Regions from separate parts of the Homo sapiens genome. Here all the other regions are linked to region 2. The links are contacts of gene promoters, found by promoter capture Hi-C in blood cells and fetal thymus (Javierre and others, 2016). All regions are on one chromosome and are shown on one strand. The core of a region is centred on a gene start or on the middle of the fragment in contact, and the rest is flanking DNA. Distances in the headings are between cores, read along the strand shown. Region 1 overlaps PFKFB1 (6-phosphofructo-2-kinase/fructose-2,6-biphosphatase 1). Region 2 holds the start of SMC1A (structural maintenance of chromosomes 1A). Region 3 holds the start of MAGED2 (MAGE family member D2). Region 4 has its middle 5.0 kb from the start of GNL3L.

Region 1 (5,445 bases), core at 1,372-3,871, 1.6 Mb before region 2:
CTTTAATTATATTCACCAATGTTTTGCAGTTTTCAGAGTGTTTTACATTTTTTAAAGTGTTCTTTTAAGCATTTTATTGTTTTGATGCTATTGTAAATAAAATTGTTTTACTTAATTTCATTTTGTTTGCTCATGGCTACTTTATAGAAATGTAATTGATTTTTATATATTGATCTTATATTCTGCAACATTGCTGGACTCATTTATTAGGTCCAATGGTGTTTTTTAGTGCATTCCTTGGGATTTTCTATATACAAGATTATGTTATCTGCAAATAGAAATAATTTCATCTCTTCCTTTCCAATCCAGATGCCTTTTATTTTCTTTTTCTTACCTAATTACCTTGGCTATAACCTCTACTAGAATGTTGAAAAGATGAGATGAAAACAGACATCCTTCTGTTGTTACTGATCTTGGCAGGCGGCATGGGAGAAACTATTCAATCTTTCACCATTAAGTGTGATATTCACTGTGGGTTTTTCATTGGTGTCTTTTATTAGGTTTAGGGCCTTTCCTTCTAGTTTTAATTTGTTGTTGGTTTTATCATGAAGGGGTATTTAATTTCCCAAATGCTTTATCTGTGCCTATTATGATGATCATTTGGTTTTTTTGTCCTTAATTCTATTGATGTGATCTGTTGCATTAATTGATTTTCAAAGGTTAAATCAAGCTTGCATTCCTATAATAAATCTAACTTGATTGTGATGTAAAAAGTATAAGTATAATATATACATATATATAATGTATACATATAAATCCTTTTATACATTCCTGGGTTCAGTTTGCTAGTGTTTTGTGGGGATTTTTACATCCATATTCACAACAGCTATTGGTCTATAATTTTCTTTTCTTCTAATATATGTGCCTAACTTTGGTAGCACGGAAATACTGGCCTCATAGAATGAGTTGGGAAGTGCTTCTTCCTCTTCTACTTTTTGAAAGAGCTTTTGAAGAATCGTATTATTCTTTAAATGTTTGTAGAATTCACCAGTGAAACCATCTAATCCTGGACTTTTCTTTCTGGCAAGGTTTTTCATTACTTATTCAACCCCTTGTTATAGATCTATTTAGATTTCATTTCTTTTTTAGTCAGTTTTGAGAGTTTGTATCATTCTAATAATTTATCTATTTCACCTAAGGCATTTATTGTGTTGGCATACAGTTTATGATTGTTCATAATATTCCCTTATAATTCTTTTTATTTTCATAAAGTCAGTAGTAATGTCTCCTCTTTTTTTCCTGAATTTATTAATTTGAGTTTTCTCTTTTTTTTCTTGGTCAGTCTCACTAAAGGTTTGTCAAGTTTATTAATTTTTTCAAATAACCAACTTTTGATTTTGTTGATTTTTTTCTAATGTTTTCCTAGTCTCTGTTTTATTATTTTCACCTCTAATCCTTATTATATCCTTCTTCTGTTTCCTTTAGGTTCCCATATTTGTGAATTTCCCAAAGTTCTCTCTGTTATTAATTTTTTATTTTACTCCATTATGATTGGAGAACATACTTTATATGATTTCCATTCTTCCAAATTTATTGAAGCTTCTTTTATGGCCTAGAATATTGTCTCTCTTGGAGCATGTTTGATGTACACTTTGGAAAAATGTATAGTCTGCTGTTTGGAGATGGAGTGTTTTACAGATGTTTGTTATTACTACTTTGTGTTGAAGTCCTCTATTTCCCTGTTGTTGATCTTCTATGTAGTTGTTCTATCCATTATTGAAAGAGTGGTCTTGAAGTTTCCAACTATTGTCAGTGGATTGTCTATTTCTCCCTTCAATTCTGCCAGTTTTGCTTCATGTATTTGGCAGCTCTGTTGTTTAGGCATATACGTTTATACTTGTGATATATTCATTATGGATTGACCCTTTTGTCATTATTGAATGTCCCTATATATCTCTAGTAATGTTTTTGAACATCCATTTTGTCTCATATTAGTATGGTCACTCCAAATTTCTTGTGGTTGTTGTTTGCATGATGTATTACTTACGTTATTTTACTTTTAATCTATTTGCTTCTTTCTCTTTTTTCTTCTTTCTTTTTTAGAATAGAGATGGAGTCTCACTATGTTGCCCAGGCTGGTCTCAAACTTCTGGACTCAAGGGATCCTCCCACCTTGGTTTCCCAAAGTGCTCGGATTATAGGCGTGAGCCACCAGGCCTGCCTTGTATCTTTCAGTCTAAAACCTATCTTCTGTAGGCAGCATGCAGTTGGATCTTGTTTGTTTGTATTCAGTTAGATATTCTCTACCTTTTGATTGGGTTGATTAATCTGTTCTGATTTAAAATCATTATTGATATAGTTGGTTTAAATATGCAGTTTTATTTTTCCATAGAGCTCATGTCTTTTTCTCTCTATTCTTCCTTTACTGCTTTCTTTTGCATTAAATGAATTATTCTAGTTTAACTTTTTAATTCATTTGATCATTTTTTATTATATATTTTTTAGGTATATTCTTCGTGGTTGTTCTAGGGCTTTTCACATACATCATACATCAGTGTGCTTCAGATTTGTACTAATTTAATTTCAATGAGATATAAAAATTTTACTCATATATAGCTCTCTTTCACCTTCCTTTTTGAGCTATTATAATATATATATTATATCTGTATATGCTAAAAACTAAATAATACATCATTATAAGTATTATTTTATATAATTTTATGTTTTAAGGAAGCTGAGAAAATTAAGGAGAACATGTATGTATTTATTATTTTCTATTATTTTCATTTGTTCCTGTGGGTTTGAATTACCTTCTGGTATCATTTCCTTATTTCTATATAACTCTTTGCTTTGTGACTTGGCTAGGCTATTTTTAAAGTATGTTTCCCTGCAGTGTGAACCCTTCAGTGTTGCTTCTTGGAGTGCATAGTTTTTGGCTTGCAGGTAATTTGGGCTTTCTTTGACTTTTTCCCAGTCTCTCTATTAAGCTGTCAGCCCACATGGGGGTATTACACTCTAGGCTCCACTAATTACTAGCTGAATGCTGTATTTTGTTTTTGTTTTTTGTTTGTTTGTTTGTTTGGCAGTGTCCTGAAGCATGCATTGCCCAGCAGCCTTATCTAATTAAACTCTAGCAGGAGTAGTTTGTGAAGTAAGTCTTGGAGGTTTCTTCATACCCCAGAAGGGCTCTTCTTACCTGTCCCTCTCTCTCTTGTTCTCTCTGATGAACAAGCTGGCCTATGTTGCTGTTAGTTAAGTGAACTTGTAGTTTTTGAGAACATCCTTGGGCTTGAGCTTCTTTGTACTATGTTAAAAATAAAGTTAGTTTTGGGGGGAGAGTTTCAGAGCTCTCTCATCTTATGAATTTCTTCTCTCCATGGGTATACTGTCTGAGCACTGTTCTGGGTGCTGGGCGAGACAGCAGCTTCTGGTCTTAGTTTGCCTATCCTGGTGTGGAACCTACCCTGTGAGCAAGATGGAATGAGGGTAATCAGGACCTCAGTATTCTTAGCCTATTGCACCTGGTATATAGCCTCCATTCTATGAGTAAAAACTGGGAGGAGGAAGGGATCCTCCAACCTCTTAACCACACTTGCCAGGAATTTAGCCTCTGCAATTCTGAGCTGAAGGGAATGCTAAATGCTAGCTCTCTGCTCCTTCCAGTAAGATGCCAAAGTATTGATGGGACATTCTCTCCAAGACGAAAGGGAGCTTCATCTTGGCTATACACACCTTAAGTGGAGCTTCTATCAAGCTAAGCTTGGAGCCAGTAGTGAGGGGACAGTAGTAAGGTCGGGAACAGTAGCATGGCACATGTATCAAAGACTGTGTTCTTACCACATTTCAGTAGATTTTCTTGAATAAAAATATCTTCATGTACTGTATTCCATTAAGACAATTTCCAGAGATTTTAAAAGGTTGTTGTGTTGTAATTTTGCCAGCTGAGCTTGTTTTATTAGAGAATGGGTCTTTAGAGCTCCTCATGCTGTCATGCCAGAAATGAAAGTCTCAAGATTGTCTTTGTGTGTTGATCTTGTATCTTGCAGCCTTGATGAACTCACTTGTTAGTTCGAGGAATTTCTGTAGTTTAGGGGGATATTTCTATGTAGACAATCATGACATTTGCAAATAGGGATTTTTTAAAAATTATTTTCCAAACCGTATGCCTTTTATTTCCTTTTATTGCCTTATTGCAGTGGTTAGAACTTCTAGTACTATGTCAAAAGAGTGGAGAAGGTGGAAATCCTTACATTAGTCCTGATGTTAGGGGGAAAGCATTTAGTCTTTCACTTTTAAGTATAATGTTGGTGATAGTTTTTGTTTGCTTTATAGAAGTTTCTTATCAAGTTGAACTTAAACAAATTTACAAGAAAAAAACAACCCTATTAAAAAGTGGGCAAAGGACATGAACAGACACTTTTCAAAAGAAGACACACATACAGCCAACAAGCATATGAAAAAATGCTCAACATCACTGATCATTAGGGAAATGCAAATCAAAGCCACAGTGAGATACCATCTCACACCAGTCAGAATGGCTATCATAAAAAAGTCAAAAAATAACAGATACTGGTGAGATTGCAGAAGAAAGTGAATGTTTATACACTGCTGGTGGGAATGTAAATTAGCTCAACCATGTGGAAAGCAGTGTAGTGATTCATCAAAGAGCTAAAAACAGAACTACCATTCAACCCAGCAATCCCATTACTGGGTATATACCCAAGGGGATATAAATCGTTCTATTATAAAGACACATGCAGACATATGTTCATTGCAGCACTATTCACAATACCAAAGACATGGAATCAACCTAAATGTCCATCAGTGATAGACTGGATAAAGAAAATGTAGTATGTGTATGCCGTGGAATACTATGCAGCCATAAAAAAGAATGACATCATGTCCTTTGCAGGGACATGGATGCTGGAGGCCATTATACTTAGCAACCTAAAAGGAACAGAAAACCAAATACTGCATGTTCTCCCTTGTAAGTGGGAGCTAAATGATGAGAACACATGGACATAGAGGGGAACAACACACATTTGAGACCTACCTGAGGGTGGAGGGTGGGAGAAGGGAAAAGATCAGGAAGAATAACTAATGGGTGCTAGTTAATAGGTAATAGGTACACCTGGGTGACAAAATAATCTGTACAACAAACTCTTGTGACATTAATTTATCTCACTAAGAAACTTGCACATGTACCTCTGAACTTAAAATAAAAAATAAAAATATAAAATCTTAAGCTTAACCATTCAGAAACCACCAACTAACCTCTAACTATGGACTTTCTACTTTAAGCAATCAAATATTTATTTCGTCTTTCTTCTGAGAACACCTTATAAAAGTTTTCTCTTGATCCCCCTCAGTGGAGCCCTGAACTGCTTGTGTATTGTGCTTCCCAATTCACAAATTGCTGAATGCTCAAACTCATTAAAATTATTTAAAGAAAGGAGTGCCTATCAAGTTTAGGTAATTCATCTCTATTCCTAACTTGCTGAAAGT
Region 2 (5,575 bases), core at 2,416-4,915:
TGCTGCTTCCTTGGTATCTGTTGACTGTTTTATGTTATACATCTGGAGCAAAAGGGAGGTGGAATGGCCCATCAGTGCCGACCACCGTCTTTGACTACACGCCACCCCCATTCCTTTCTCCCTATAATATTTCAGCAGTTATTGATTCCTACTGATTTTACTTCCTGATATATTTCGTATCTGTGCCCTCCATCTCTGCTGTCACCAGCTTAATTCAGGCCTCACAATCTGGTGTCAGGCAGTATCTCAGGAGCCCCACTGGGTTCTCTTGCTCCAACGTTACCCTCTCTGCACTGGATTTCTCTGCACTGGCTACCAGAGTGATCTTTGGGAAGCAAATCTGACCATGGCACTCCTCAGCGTAAAGCCTTTGAAAGCACCTTTAAAGCAATGGCTCCCCAGTGCTTATAAGGCCCAACCCCCTTTGCCAGATTTATAAGGTTCTTCATGATCTGACCCCTGCTCACCTTTCTAAGCCTCAAACACATCTACAACACTCCTTTTTCATTATACTCTATTCAGTTTTCCTTATTTCAGTAAGTGGCACCACCATTCACCAAGTTGCTCCGGTCAAAAACCTAGGAGACATCCTTTAATCCTTCCTTTCCCTCACTCCTTCTTCTTTCAAAATAACCCTTATCCAAGCCACCATTGCCAGCTTCCTGAATAACCACAACTGTCTCCATGTTGGTATTCCAGCTTCCTCTATTGACTCCTATAGCCCAATCACAGAAACCAGAAGCAGCTTTCTTTTCTGAAATATATGTCCCCCCACCCTTTTTTTTTTTTTTTTTTTTTTTTTTACTTTTATTACTTATTTTCTGGTCAAATGAAAGGCTAGAAAGCTAAATTTGCCTGTGTTCCTTCATATTTTGGGAAGCTCACTTTTGGCATGTAACCCAGCCAAAGCTGCAGCCAAAAAAACTTTAGCAAACATAAATCTGATCATGTCTCTCACCTGCTTAAATCCTCCACTAGCTTCCCACTATACTTAGAATCAGATCCAAACTCCTTACTGTGGGCTTTCAAGATCTAGTTCCTGCACACCTCTCCAATTTGTCTCAAACCACTGTCTCCCTTGCTTACAGTGCTCCAGGCAAGCTGATCAAGTCCTCCAACACAGTAATTGTTCCCACCCCGGGGCCTTTGTATGTGCTGTTCCTTTGTTTGGAGCGTGATTCTTTAATTCCTCCTATAGCTATTTGGATCTTTTTGGTGTTTTGTTTTGTTTTCCATTTTGTAACTGTGAAGTAGTTGAACATATATGCCCGGCTGATTTTTGTATTTTTAGTAGAGATGGGGTTTCACAGTGTTAGCCAGGATAGTCTCAATCTCCTGACCTTATGATCCACCCTCCTTGGCCTCCCAAAGTGCTGGGATTACAGGCATGAGCCACCACACCTGGCCCCATTTAATTTTTTTTAATATAGATGGGGTCTCACTATATTGCCCAAGCTAGTCTTGAACTCAAGCAATTCTCCTGCCTCGGCCTCCCAAAGTGCTGGTATTACAGGCATGAGCCATTGTGCCCGGCGTCACTTAGGTTTTTAATCCACTTGGAGTTGCATTTTGTGTATGGTGTGAGATAAGGATCCAATTTAATTTTCCCCCCAAGTGCCATCTCATCTTTTTTAAATTTAAAATTTTATTTTATTTTTGGCCGGGCGCGGTGGCTCACGCCTGTAATCCCAGCACTTTGGGAGGCCGAGGCAGGTGGATCAGGAGGTCAGGAGTTCAAGACCAGCCTGGCCAACATAGTGAAACCCTGTCTTTACTAAAAATACAAAAAAATTAGCCAGGCGTGGCAGTGGGCACCTGTAATCCTAGCTACTTGGAAGGCTGAGGCAGAGAATAAAATTTATTTTATTTTTAATTTGTTTTAGATGGGGTCTCTCTCTGTTGCCCAGGATGGAGTGTAGTGGTGCAATCATGGCTCACTGCAGCCTCAAACTCCTGGGCTCAAAGGATCTTCCTGCCCCAGCCTCCTGAGTAGCTGGGACTACAGGTGTGTGCCACCATGCCTGCCTAATTTTTAAAATTTTTTTGTAGAGATTGGGTTTTGCTATGTTACCCAGGCTCACCATCTCATCTTTTAAAAGGGAACAGTATTTCCCCATGGATTACATGAGATTGCTGTCTTTTAGCCATTTTATCCCCTCAGCCTGATTGTTTCTCCCAGCTGAACTTCATTTATGGCTCCCCTACTAGATTCCATCTACCAAGCTTCCTCCCTTTATTTATTTTTGAGACAGGGTATTGCTCTGTCACCTAGGCTGGAGTGAAGTGGTGCGGACACCACTCACTACAGCCTCAACCTCCCAGGCTCAAGTGATCCTCCTGCTTCGGCATCCTGGGTAGACCAGAGGTGAGAGCTGCCACACCCAGCTAATTTTTTAATTTTTAGTAGAGATAGGGTCTCACTATGTTGCCCAGGCTGGTCTTGAACTGCTGGTCTCAAGTGATCCTCCTGCCTTGGCCTGCCTCCCTCACGATGGGATTACAGTTGTCAGCCACCATGCCCAGCCACTTCCTCACTTTCCTGGACTTGTCCTAAGTCTTTAGGACTCTTTCTAGCCTTCGGACATAATTTAATAAATAGTTAAAGGAATAATTATGGCAACCACCAGATCCTTTCCATGTTTAAGTCTGAGAATGGCACCAACTTACCTACTGGTTTCACCTGCCATTACAGTATAAGGTCACTGAAGGGGAAGATTCAGCTGACATTTTAAGCTTCTTGGATTGCTAAGGCCCCTGCCTTATTAATGATAGAGAGCAGAGAGGGAAGAGAGGTAAGGTGGCATTGTGGTATAGAGCTGTGGGAATGGGATGGGGGAGAGGCATGGAGGCAGAGGTAGGTGGAGGTGGAGAGCGCTGGCTTAGGGACCCTGACTCCTGGGGGTTCACACAAAATACCTTTCTCAGTAAGGAATCCCGATTTTGAAGCTCTTAGGTTGGCTCTGCATGCAACTTTGTTCTTGGGTTACGGCGGCAGTTTCTGAACTCTGCTTGGTACAACAGGAGGGAGGCAGGGGATAGGGGTAGTATCTCAGGCCGTAGCCTTCCCCAGCCTGTATCCCTGTTGCCTGGGAGTAGCCCCAGTCCCATTCACAACCCGTCCGCCTTCGCAACCCGTCCCGCCACCAATCCCACCCCACCATTAGCAAAGTCTGAGCTCACCTAACACTGAATCCTCCCGTTGGCCCCTCCTTCCCGTCCAGCTCTCCGCTCCCCCCGGGTCCTTCCAATTCCCGACCCTGTCCTTGTCCTAGCCTTGAAAGCTGGCCAGGCTAAAGCCACAGCCGAGCTCCCACCTTCCTCTTGCCCTGAGGGGCATAATCCTGCTGTGACTTCTGTCTCAGCAAGCGTGAGCTCAGGTCTCCCCCGCCTCCTTGAACCTCAAGAACTGCTCTGACTCCGCCCAGCAACAACTCCTCCGGGGATCTGGTCCGCAGGAGCAAGTGTTTGTTGTTGCCATGCAACAAGAAAGGGGGGCGGAGGCACCACGCCAGTCGTCAGCTCGCTCCTCGTATACGCAACATCAGTCCCCGCCCCTGGTCCCACTCCTGCCGGAAGGCGAAAATCCCGTTAGGCCTGGACGTATTCTCGCGACATTTGCCGGTCGCCCGGCTTGCACTGCGGCGTTTCCCGCGCGGGCTACCTCAGTTCTCGGGCGTACGGCGCGGCCTGTCCTACTGCCGCCGGCGCCGCGGCCGTCATGGGGTTCCTGAAACTGATTGAGATTGAGAACTTTAAGTCGTACAAGGGTCGACAGATTATCGGACCATTTCAGAGGTTCACCGCCATCATTGGACCCAATGGCTCTGGTGAGATAAACCTGGCCGCGGCCCTGCGCACGTCCCGGCCTGGACCCCTTATCCGGTGCCGGAGTAGTACAACCCAGCCCATGTAACCTGAAACGTCGCGGACCCTTACGGGTTCCTTGCCCGTCCAGAGGGGGTTCTGCTCGAACCCACTCTCCCCGCGCGGGTGCTCTAACTCGAACCCCTTCCAGGTGTCACTTGCCGCTTCCTGCGCGGCCCCCGCCCCGGCCCAGTGGTACAGGCCGAGCTGCCAGTTACCCCGCCTACTTCCCCCTCCCGCCAAAGGAGTCGCGTCTGGAACCAGCTTCCCGCCAGCTCAGTCCTCCGCCGCGCGGCTCCCCGCCGGACCGGCCGGAGCCGGCTTCCCAGCCTTACTTGACCCCCTCCGGAGAATGTGGGGACGCTGGTAGCTCTCCCGTGGCCTTCGGTCCCAAACGGTGCACTTCTGTTTCAGCCCAGCGTCCTCTCTCGCCTCGCATTGGTACACTCCAACTCCTTTCTACTCTTCTCTGGAGGCGGCACTTTTGAATTTCAGACCCAGCGCTCCAGTCTTTAGAATGCTTGAGGTGTCGATCCCCACCCCCCACCGCTATGTCAGAGGTAGTTGCCTCGAACTCGCCCTTTTCCTACCACCGAAACCGTCAAAAGCCGAAATTAACTAATTTACCAAATTTGTTGAATGCTTATTGTTTATCAGGAGTTATTCAGTTGCAAGTTGTGGAAACAGCGGAGAATAGAATAAACCAACTCCATGCTCACAGGGAACTTATATTCCAGAGGGGAAAGAAGATAAGGAGAAAATAAGATGGTTTTAGGCTGTCATAAGTGCTATACAGGAAATGAGACAGGTGGATGTGATAAAGTGACTTAGGTGGTGTCTTTAGAAAGGGTGGTCAGGTAAAGCCTCTATTTTGTGTCTTCCCAACTCTAAACGATACACCGTGGATTCCTCTCACCTCAGATGTCCATTTGGAATCCTGCTGTATTCTTCCACCCCAGAGATGTTCTAGCTGAATGATATCCTAGCCTAAGAGGCTGCCCTTGCTGAAGTAGCACATACTGAGTACCTTTCCTGGAGACTGAGTGTCTCAACAGTGGCACTATTGACATTTCCAGCGAGATAATCCTTTGCTGTGGGATGTGCTCTGTGCATTGTAGGATGTTTAACAGCATCTCTGGCATCTACCTGCTAGATAACAGTAGCACCCCTGCTCCCCAGGCATGACAATCAAAACTGTCTCTAGACATTGCTAGATGTCACAGAGGGTGTGTGTGATTCCCCCAACCCCCCAACTTGTTTGAGAACCACTGGCCTGGAGGGCTAATGCTTGGTGTCCACCCAGTTTCCTCGGGTTTTAGTGTAGTGGCCCCTGTTGGAAGAGCTAGGATGTACCTCTTGGCATTCAGTCCCCTCAGCATTAGTAGATTTGTATTCCCAGCTGTTCTGAAAAGGGCTATGGCACTCCCCCACTTGCCCCCGTTCTTCAAGGCCCACCTCTACAAGCCATTCCTTTAGTCCCTTTGGTGAGTGAGTCTTCCTCTGTGGCATACCGTAGACACTTGGTACACGTTAATGTTTATTAAGTCCTATATTGATGGTGCATGTTTTTGTATCTTCATTGGCCTGTGAGTACCCTAAAGCAGACATTCCTTGAAACGTTTTACTGGTGTTCAGTCCATAATATATATTACAAAAATGTTTACCATATTGATTGTGATTAGAGAGGCTTGGGGTTGTGAGATGATGTTGT
Region 3 (3,185 bases), core at 1-2,500, 1.4 Mb before region 2:
CTGAACCCTGGATTTGTTTCTCACTGACTTCCAAGCAGGTGTTTCATCTGCCTAGCAGGCCAGGAGCAAACCAAGGGTGGGTGGAGGCTGAGTCTTCTTCTCTTTCTGTGCCCACTACTGGCTCTGCTTGAACCATCCTAGACAAGCCGCTTCACCTCTCTGGAACTCAGCTTCCTTCTCCATAAAATTGGGGCTATGAGAATTACTTTCAAGATTTAATGAGATAACCTGCATAAATGTGCTTAGCTCAAGGCCTAATACAGGGCAGCTACTATGTAAACATAAACTGCATTACATTCAGATTGCACCTCCCCATCAGTCTGCAAGCTCTCTGAAGACAGGAATTACATCACATTACTCTCAGTGCCCCCCACAGCCCTGATGAGCACAGGGATCTTTCTAAATGTTTGTAGAACAAATGAATCAACTGAGAGAGGAGTAGAAAACCAAGGGTGGTGACTGCAGAGGTCTTACCTTTCGGGCTTTCTTGGCTTTGACCTTGGGCCGAGTATCCTGATTCTCCTGAGACTGGGCAGCTGCACTCTCAGGCTCAGGTTCATCTGCTGGGGCCTGAGAGGGTGCAGCCTCAGTCTCCTGAGCCTTTGTATTGACCTTTGTATCAGCCACATGGCTGACCTTTTTGGTCTCAGTGGCAGGCATTGTCACAGCCTGCGGGTCAGCATTCTGTTTCTTGGTGTCAGCTGCTAGACTCTTGTTTTCAGCTGCCAGAACCTGGGTATCAGTCAGCTGAGTAGTAGATGAGGCCTGGGTGGCAGGTGCCTCCCGAGCCTCTGGGGTCTTTGAGACCTCTGTGGCCTTTGAGACCCCAGAGGCTTTTGAGACCTTCACATCCTCTGAGACCTCCAGTGCCTTTGAGGCCTTCGGTGTCTCTGGGACCTCCACATTCTGGGTCACTGTCAACAGAGTCTGCATCATCGAGCTACTGTCCTTTTCTGAAGCTTCAGCCTGCAAGAGGAAGCAGGGAAGTTCATAGACCTTCTCCTCACCCCCAACTAAGCAAATGGCTCCAAAATTCCAAGGCCACACTTCTCTGACCTGTACTGACTCCTACCTGCGGTGTGCTCTGACCACCTCAGCCCAACAAGGCCTCCCTTTCCTCTGAGCAAGAACTGATGGCAGAAGAGGGGCCCGCCCACCTTCTCTCCCTCCCTCCACTGGGCAGGGGGACACCCAGGCAGGAAAGTAGGTGGAGAAGGACAAGGATGGGAGGGGAAGAGCCAAGGGACTTGGGGGCAGCAACAAGGGCTGGAGAGGAAAAGCAGCTGGGGAAAGGACAGAAAGAGGCCTTACCTGGAAGCGAGTTAGACCTGCACCACTCTCGCTTGTGTCAGACATGTCTCAATTTGGCCTGGCAAGAGCTGAGCCTGAAGGGGAGAAGGCCTGGGTCAAGTTGAAGCCCACTGAACGTCCTCTCCCCTGTTGTGCCTGGAGGCTGATCCTCACCTTCCGTAGGTCCCCAATTCCAACCCCCTCCACCACCCCCAACGACTCCGTTCTCAGATACAGGAATTCAAAGCTTCTAAGTCTCAATTCTCTGCAGCCGCACCCTCCCCTTCTCCAGGAAGATGTGCCAGCGCGGCAGCTCTGAGGACCCCGCCCCTTTTCCCAGTGCACCCCCCACCCAGCCGCAGGTCGATAGAGCGCATGCGCGTCGGCTGCAGGGCCGCTCTCAGCCCCGCCCGCTTTCCCAGCACGAGCCCTTTCTTTGATGTCCACCGTGCACATGCGCATTCAGCAGCTGGCTCTTCTCAGTGCTGGCCCTTCTCAACACGCCCCTTTCTAGCGAAACATAGTGCGCATGCGCAATGGTCGTGGTCTCAGTCTGGCACTCTGCCCCAACACACGCCCCTCTCCAGGTCCGCAGTACCATTCGGTCCCGCCCCCTGCCCAACAAGCCTTCCTCCAAAATTGTCGCAGTGTCTGGTGGACCCGGCCCCTCCCCTACTCACGCCCTACAGAGTCCAGTGTCTCTTGGCCCCGCCCTTCTTCCTAACACGCCCCCCTCCAAACAGGCGCATCTTGGTTCCGCCCCTTCCCTATTACACCCCCTCCTCAAATAAATACTGAGCTAGTGATTCCATCTTGGGCCCGGCCAAACCGGGTCCAGTCCCCTCCCTTCCCAGCCGGATGGATCCGGTACGATCCGGTCCTTAAGGCAGGTTTTCTCCAGATCCCAGAGGGTGGGGCCGACCCCTAGCGGGGCTCTCATCCAAAAGCCGACCCGGCTGCTCACCTCGTCCTCCTACAATTCCCGAGTGCGTCCACTCACTCCAAGCCCCTCCGAAACTCGGAGACTGCCCTCCCCTCTCTAGGCCGGAAGTGGTCCCGCCCCTTTCCGCCTCCCTAGGGGGCCTCCGTCCCAGCCTGTCTGCCCCTCCCCCGCTCCCTGCTCCTCATTCCTTATGCCCCCCTCCGTATTCCCTTAGCCTGGCTCCCTACTCCCTATTCCTACCTCACATTTCCTATTTACTCCAGAATTCCTTCTTCCCATTTCTTACATCCTCCTCCGTGTTACGTTTGCACACCCTGCCCCTCAGTATTCCTTAATCCCTCTCTGCATCCCCGATTCTCTTCTCTGGATCTTCACTCCCCCTCAGTGTTCCCCTCCCTCCTTGTATTCCTCGTCCCCCTCCCAACATTCCTGGTTCCCCGTTTTTCTCCCCTCCTCCCTCCGCTAGTCTCTGCTCCCAGTCTGTACAGCCTACTACTTTCTCAGTCGTCCTCATTGCCTACACCCCACTCCAGGTCACCTCTGCTTCAGCTGCAGTGGTGCAGTAAGAATTGCTCATCTGCCTGGCTATGGGTTCGAGGGGTCTGGAACCACTGTCTGACCTCCATAAAACCCCAATATCAACGCCCCTCACCTTGTCCTCCAGCGAGTTCGGGATGCGTCTGCCTTCTCTAAGTCCCTCTCGAAGTCTCAGCCTCCTGGACTAGAGCTGCAGACAGCCCAACCCAGCCCAGCCCCTTTCCGCAGCCCCCTGCCACCCCCCCTCGCCTTCCTCGGGGGTGGGGCAATGGGGCCCCGCTCAGGGCTGTCTGACGCCAAAGCCCATGTTTATGCCACTGTACCAGGCTCAGTCTGAAGCTCTTCCAACTCAAACCGCCCCCTGAAAGCAAGTCATTCATTGAATTTATTTTTATATCTTCATTTTTTCTTATTA
Region 4 (5,091 bases), core at 1,940-4,439, 1.1 Mb before region 2:
ACTTCAACTGTTTGTCTAATATTTTACTTTCTAAGCTAGGTGGTAGGTACGTGGGTTTTTGTTATCTTCTCTATACTTATTTGTATGTCCGAAATATTTCATATTTTTTAAAAGACTACAAGGATCTGAAACAAAATGTTAATAATAGTTAAATCTAGATTAGTGGTTCTCTAACTTTCCCCAGCATCAGAATCACTGGGAGGGCTTGTTAGAACACCAATTACTGGGCCTCATGCCCAGAGTTTTGATTCAGTAAGTCTGGTTTAGGGCCCAGGATTTGCATTTCTAACAAATCAAAGTGACATTATCAGTGAATTTAATTTTCTTCCTTGTACTTTTCTGTGTTTTCCATGTATTTGATGAATATTTATTACTTTAGTGAGAGATTGTGTTATTTTTTAAAATCTCTTTCATCTCTACTTCCCACTTTCATTTCCCTCCTATAGGCAGCCATTCAAAGGTGTTTTATGCATATTTTTGCATATATGCATTCTTGGAAAATACGTATTATTGCTTTATGTGTATTTCCTCCTTTTTTTTTTTTTTTTTTTTTGAGCCAGGGTCTTGCTCTATCGCCCAGACTGGAGTGCAGTGGCATGACCTCCACTCACTGCAACCTCCACCTCCTGGGCTCAAGGGATCCTCCCACCTCACCCTCCCGAGTAGCTGGGGAACTACAGGCGCACATCACCATGCCCAGCTAATTTTTAAAGATGTTTTTACTGGTCTCGGCTGGGCACTGTGGCTCACACCTGTAATCCCAGCACTTTGGGAGGCCAAGGCAGGCGGATCACCTGAGGTCAGGAGTTCGAGACCAGCCTGGCCAACATGGTGAAACCCTGTCTCTACCAAAAAGAAAAATACAAAAAATTAGCTGGGTGTGGTGGCAGGCGCCTTAATCCCAGCTACTTGGGAGGCAGAGGCAGGAGAATCGTTTGAACCCGGGAGGCGGAGGTTGCAGTGAGCCAAGATCAAGCCATTGCACTCAAACCTGGGGGACAAGCACGAGACTTCTCTCAAAAAAAAAAAAAAAAGATTTTTTTACTGGTCTCAAACTCGGGGCTCCAGCAATCTGCTTGCCTCGGCCTCCTAAAGTGATGGGATTGTGGGTGACTGCACCCGGCCAAATTTTTATTTTATATTGTTTCCAAATTCAGAACAGTCGAAAGAATGGTATAATGAAAGCCCATATACCCTTATACTTCACCAAATATCATCCTACATAACCACAATACCATTATCAAACCTAAGAAGATTTAACTATAATTCAATAATGCCATCACGTATAGCCCATATTCACATTTCCGCCCAATTATCCCCAAAAATGCAGCTTTCGTTTTTTGATCCCAGGATCTAATCAAGGTTTATGTACTACGTTTCTTTTTTTTTTTTTTTTTTTTTTTTTTTTTGAGACGAAGTCTTGCTCTGTTGCCCAGGCTCGAGTGCAGTGGCGCAATCTTGGCTCACTGCAACCTCTACCTCCTGGGTTCAAGTAATTCTCCTGCCTCCACCTCCCAAGTAGCTGGGACTACAGGCGCCCGCCACCATGCCTGTCTAATTTTTGTATTTTAAGTAGAGACAGCGTTTCTGCACATTGGAGTGATCCATCCACCTTGGCCTCCCAAAGTGCAGGGATTACAGTCATGAGCCACCACACCTGACGTTTGTGTATTACATTTGGTTGTTATATCCCTTTAACCTCTTTTAATCTAGAATAATACCCCTATATTTTTTGTTTCAAATGACATTTATGTTTTTGAAGAGTCCAGGCCAATTGTCTTGTAATATGTCCCATATTCTGGATTCATTTGTTCTTTTCACATGAATAGATTCAGAATAAATATTTTTAGCAAGAACAGTACATAGGGGATATCCTTTATTTTGTATTGTGTCACCTCAAGAGGCACATGATATCAGATTGTCTCACTATTGAGCATACTTTGTACTTGTTTTTCTTTTACATAAATATCTCATTCTGGCCAGGTGCGGTGGCTCATGCCTGTAATCCCAGCACTTTGGGAGGCCGAAGCAGGCGGATTGCTTGAGGCCAGGAGTTCAAGACCAGCCTGGCCAACATGGCGAAACCCTGTCTCTACTAAAAATGCAAAAATTAGCCAGGTGTGGTGGCGCACACCTCTAATCCCAGCTACTGGGGAGGCTGAGGCACGAGAATCGCTTGAACCTGGGAGGCAGAGGTTGCAGTGAGCTGAGATCACACCACTGCACTCCAGCCTGGGTGATGGAGTAAGACTCTGTCTTAAAAAAAAAAAAAAAAAAAAGTCATTCTGTTTTCCATTCAGCCTAGTGTTTTTAAGGTCTATCCATATTGCTGTGTGTACATCTAATCTATTGCTTCTTTTTTTTTTTTTTTTTTTTTTTTTGAGATGGTGTCTCACTCTGTTGCCCAGGCTGGAGTGCAGTAGCGCTATCTGGGCTTACTGCAAACTCTGCCCCCTGGGTTCCTGCCTCAGCCTCCCGAGTAGCTGGAATTACAGGCGCCCACCACCATGCCCGTGTATTTTTAGTAGAGACGGGGTTTTGCCATATTGGCCAGGCTGGTCTCGAATTCCTGGCCTCAGGTGATCCACCCACCTTGGCATCCCAAAGTGCTGGGATTACAGGCGTGAGCCACTGCGCCCAACCTGACCTCATCCATTGCTTCTATCTGCTCATGGTAACCATACTGTGCCTTCACTGCATAGATTGCCTCCAGCTCTCCAATAATACTTCAGTGAACATCCTTGTACATATTCCCTTATTGACCTGTGTGAGGATTTCTTTTGGAACATACACTCAAGAGCCACATGATTACATTCTAAAGTATGCATATACTTAGTTTGACTTAAAAACACCAATACTTCTAGATGGTTCTCTGGGATGGCAGTACCAGTTCACACTTTCACCATGTGTGAGGATTTCTGTATCCCCACATCTTCACTAACACTTGACATTCTCTAGCTTGCTATTTTTTGTTTTTAAGACAGAGTCTCTGTTGTGCTCTCCTCGGCAGCACATATATTAAGACAGAGTCTTAATGCAGTAGTGCGATCTTGGCTCACTGCTACTTCCACCTCCCGGGTTCAAGCAATTCTGCTGCCTCAGCCTCCCTAGTAGCTGGGATTACAGGCGCCCGCCACCATGCCCTGCTAATTTTTGTATTTTATTAGAGATGGGGTTTCACCTGACCTCAAGCAATCCACCCACCTCAGACTCCCAAAGTGCTGGGATTACTGGCGTGAGTCAGCACGCCCGACCAAGATGGCTAATTTTTGCCAGTCTAATAGGTGGAATAGGTTTCAATCCATCTAGATTCCACCCTCATATGTGGTAATACGTGGGAATGTAGCTTTATTATTCTCCACATGGTAAGCCAGGTTTCCCACCATCAAATACTGAACAATTCCTCCTTTTCCCATTGATTTGCCATGCCACCATTATCATATGTTATTAGGCATACACACATAAACACACATACATCTTTTTCTGTCCTTGGGCTAATACCACCTTGGTTTTAGTATTTTGTAATGTGTCTAAATATCACATGGAGCATTTCCTCCTCTTTAGTGTTCTTTTTAGGTGTCTTAGATCTATTGCCACATAAATTTTAAAATGAGTCTATCAAGGTCTTCAAAAATCCAACTGGGATTTTGATTGGGATCACACTAAATTTATAGATTAATTTGGAGGAACTGCCATCATTGTAATAATTACTCATTCCATCCAACAACGTGGAATATACCCTCATTTCTTCAGTTCATCTTCTTCTGTGTTCTTTATTAAAGTTTTCTCTTAAGAATTGTGTATTTTAAAAAATAAAAATGAGGTCAGGCACAGTGGCTCACACCTGTAATCCCAGGATTTTGGGAGGCCGAGGTGGGCAGATCACGAGGTCAGAAGTTCAAGACCAGCCTGGCCAACATAGTGAAACCCCGTCTCTACTAAAATACAAAAATTAGCTGGGCATGGTGGTGGGCGCCTGTAGTCCCAGCTACTTGGGAGACTGAGGCAGGAGAATCGCTTGAACCCGGGATGCAGCAGTTGCAGTGAGCCGATTGCGCCACTGCACTCTAGCCTGGGTGACAGTGAGACTCTGTCTCAAAAAAAAATAAAAATAAAAATAAAAATGAATTGGTTACCTTGGATGTTGCTAAGGCATCAGCTCATTCTGCTGATAATTAATCAACAAATGGAAAAAATCTGGCATTATTCCTGCCTTCCCACATGAATCATATTGCAGGTTAATCAAATAGATAATTAAGGAAAGAGCTTCTTTATGGAAGACTCAACTTATAAATGCAAGAGAAATGGCAGTGTTACAATTCAATCCCTAATGAGATAATGGATTTAAGAAAAAATATGGCTGCTAAAACCATAGGTGAAAAACATTTGGGGAATTATAACAGAGGAATTAGGCTGATACCATCTGACCCTACTCATCAAACTTATCATCAAAGACAGAAAACAAGATATATGTGCCTTCTTATGTTGTACAATAAGAAGTATACAGCACTATTCATGAAGTATACTTTTAAACAAGAAGGAAAAAAGAAACAATTTAATCGAGCATCTCTATTTAACTTCATTTACAAAAAATTCAGGTAATATAGGAAGAGAAACATGTTAAATGGTACCGGGAGAAACAATACACCAAAGCAAGAACTTGGGAAATTTTACAGGACAAAAGAGCCAGTATATTCAACAAATAAATGGAAGGAAGAAAAGAGAGGGAAAATTACAGATTAAAAAGAAAATAAGGCTGGGCATGGTGGCTCATGCCTGTAATCCCTGCACTTCGGGAGGCCGAGGCGGGTGGATCACTTAAGGTCAGGAGTTCAAGACCAGGCTGGCCAACATGGTGAAACCCCATCTCTACTAAAAACACAAAAATTAGCCGGGCATCATGGCACATGCCTGTAATCCCAGCTACTGGGGAGGCTGAGGCAGGAGAATCACTGGAACCCGGAAGGCAGAGTTTGCAGTGAGCCGAGATCGCACCACTGCACTCCAGCCTGAGGGACAGAACGAGACCTCGTCTCAAAAAAAAAAAAAAAAAAAAAAGATTAAAAAGAAATAAAAAGGAAAGGAAATTTC

What was found. Contacts are between HindIII fragments. The CHiCAGO score rates a contact against its expected background, and 5 or more counts as called.
Region 1: a contact is called between a fragment that was not itself captured here and the fragment with the promoter of SMC1A in region 2, in 1 of 17 cell types (non-activated CD4 T cells). The highest score is 5.6, in non-activated CD4 T cells.
Region 3: a contact is called between a fragment that was not itself captured here and the fragment with the promoter of SMC1A in region 2, in 3 of 17 cell types (naive CD4 T cells, non-activated CD4 T cells and monocytes). The highest score is 7.7, in naive CD4 T cells.
Region 4: a contact is called between a fragment that was not itself captured here and the fragment with the promoter of SMC1A in region 2, in 2 of 17 cell types (neutrophils and total B cells). The highest score is 6.3, in neutrophils.

Annotation. Positions count from the first base shown.
Region 1 is chrX:54,982,888-54,988,332 of GRCh38, reverse strand. All of the region lies in intron 1 of PFKFB1 (6-phosphofructo-2-kinase/fructose-2,6-biphosphatase 1), which reads left to right. Among named protein-coding and RNA genes, the nearest start is that of PFKFB1, 8.6 kb to the left of the region's middle. The HindIII fragment of the contact is 2,160 bases long and covers 1,542-3,701 here.
Region 2 is chrX:53,420,744-53,426,318 of GRCh38, reverse strand. It overlaps SMC1A (structural maintenance of chromosomes 1A), which reads left to right and starts at 3,665. Exons shown (of 25, transcript NM_006306.4): 1 at 3,665-3,827. The coding sequence starts at 3,719. It overlaps RIBC1 (RIB43A domain with coiled-coils 1), which reads right to left and starts at 3,446. Exons shown (of 8, transcript NM_001031745.5): 1 at 3,315-3,446; 2 at 2,917-3,005; 3 at 1-42. The coding sequence starts at 42. RefSeq lists enhancers at 3,358-3,407, 2,562-3,533, 3,698-3,877, 4,068-4,117, 4,238-4,417 and 1 more. The HindIII fragment of the contact is 3,638 bases long and covers 2,736-5,575 here.
Region 3 is chrX:54,807,503-54,810,687 of GRCh38, reverse strand. MAGED2 (MAGE family member D2) reads right to left here and starts at 2,943. Exons shown (of 13, transcript NM_177433.3): 1 at 2,886-2,943; 2 at 1,312-1,385; 3 at 475-966. The coding sequence starts at 1,356. The HindIII fragment of the contact is 578 bases long and covers 962-1,539 here.
Region 4 is chrX:54,522,648-54,527,738 of GRCh38, reverse strand. No RefSeq gene overlaps it. Among named protein-coding and RNA genes, the nearest start is that of GNL3L, 5.0 kb to the left of the region's middle. The HindIII fragment of the contact is 8,786 bases long and covers 1-5,091 here.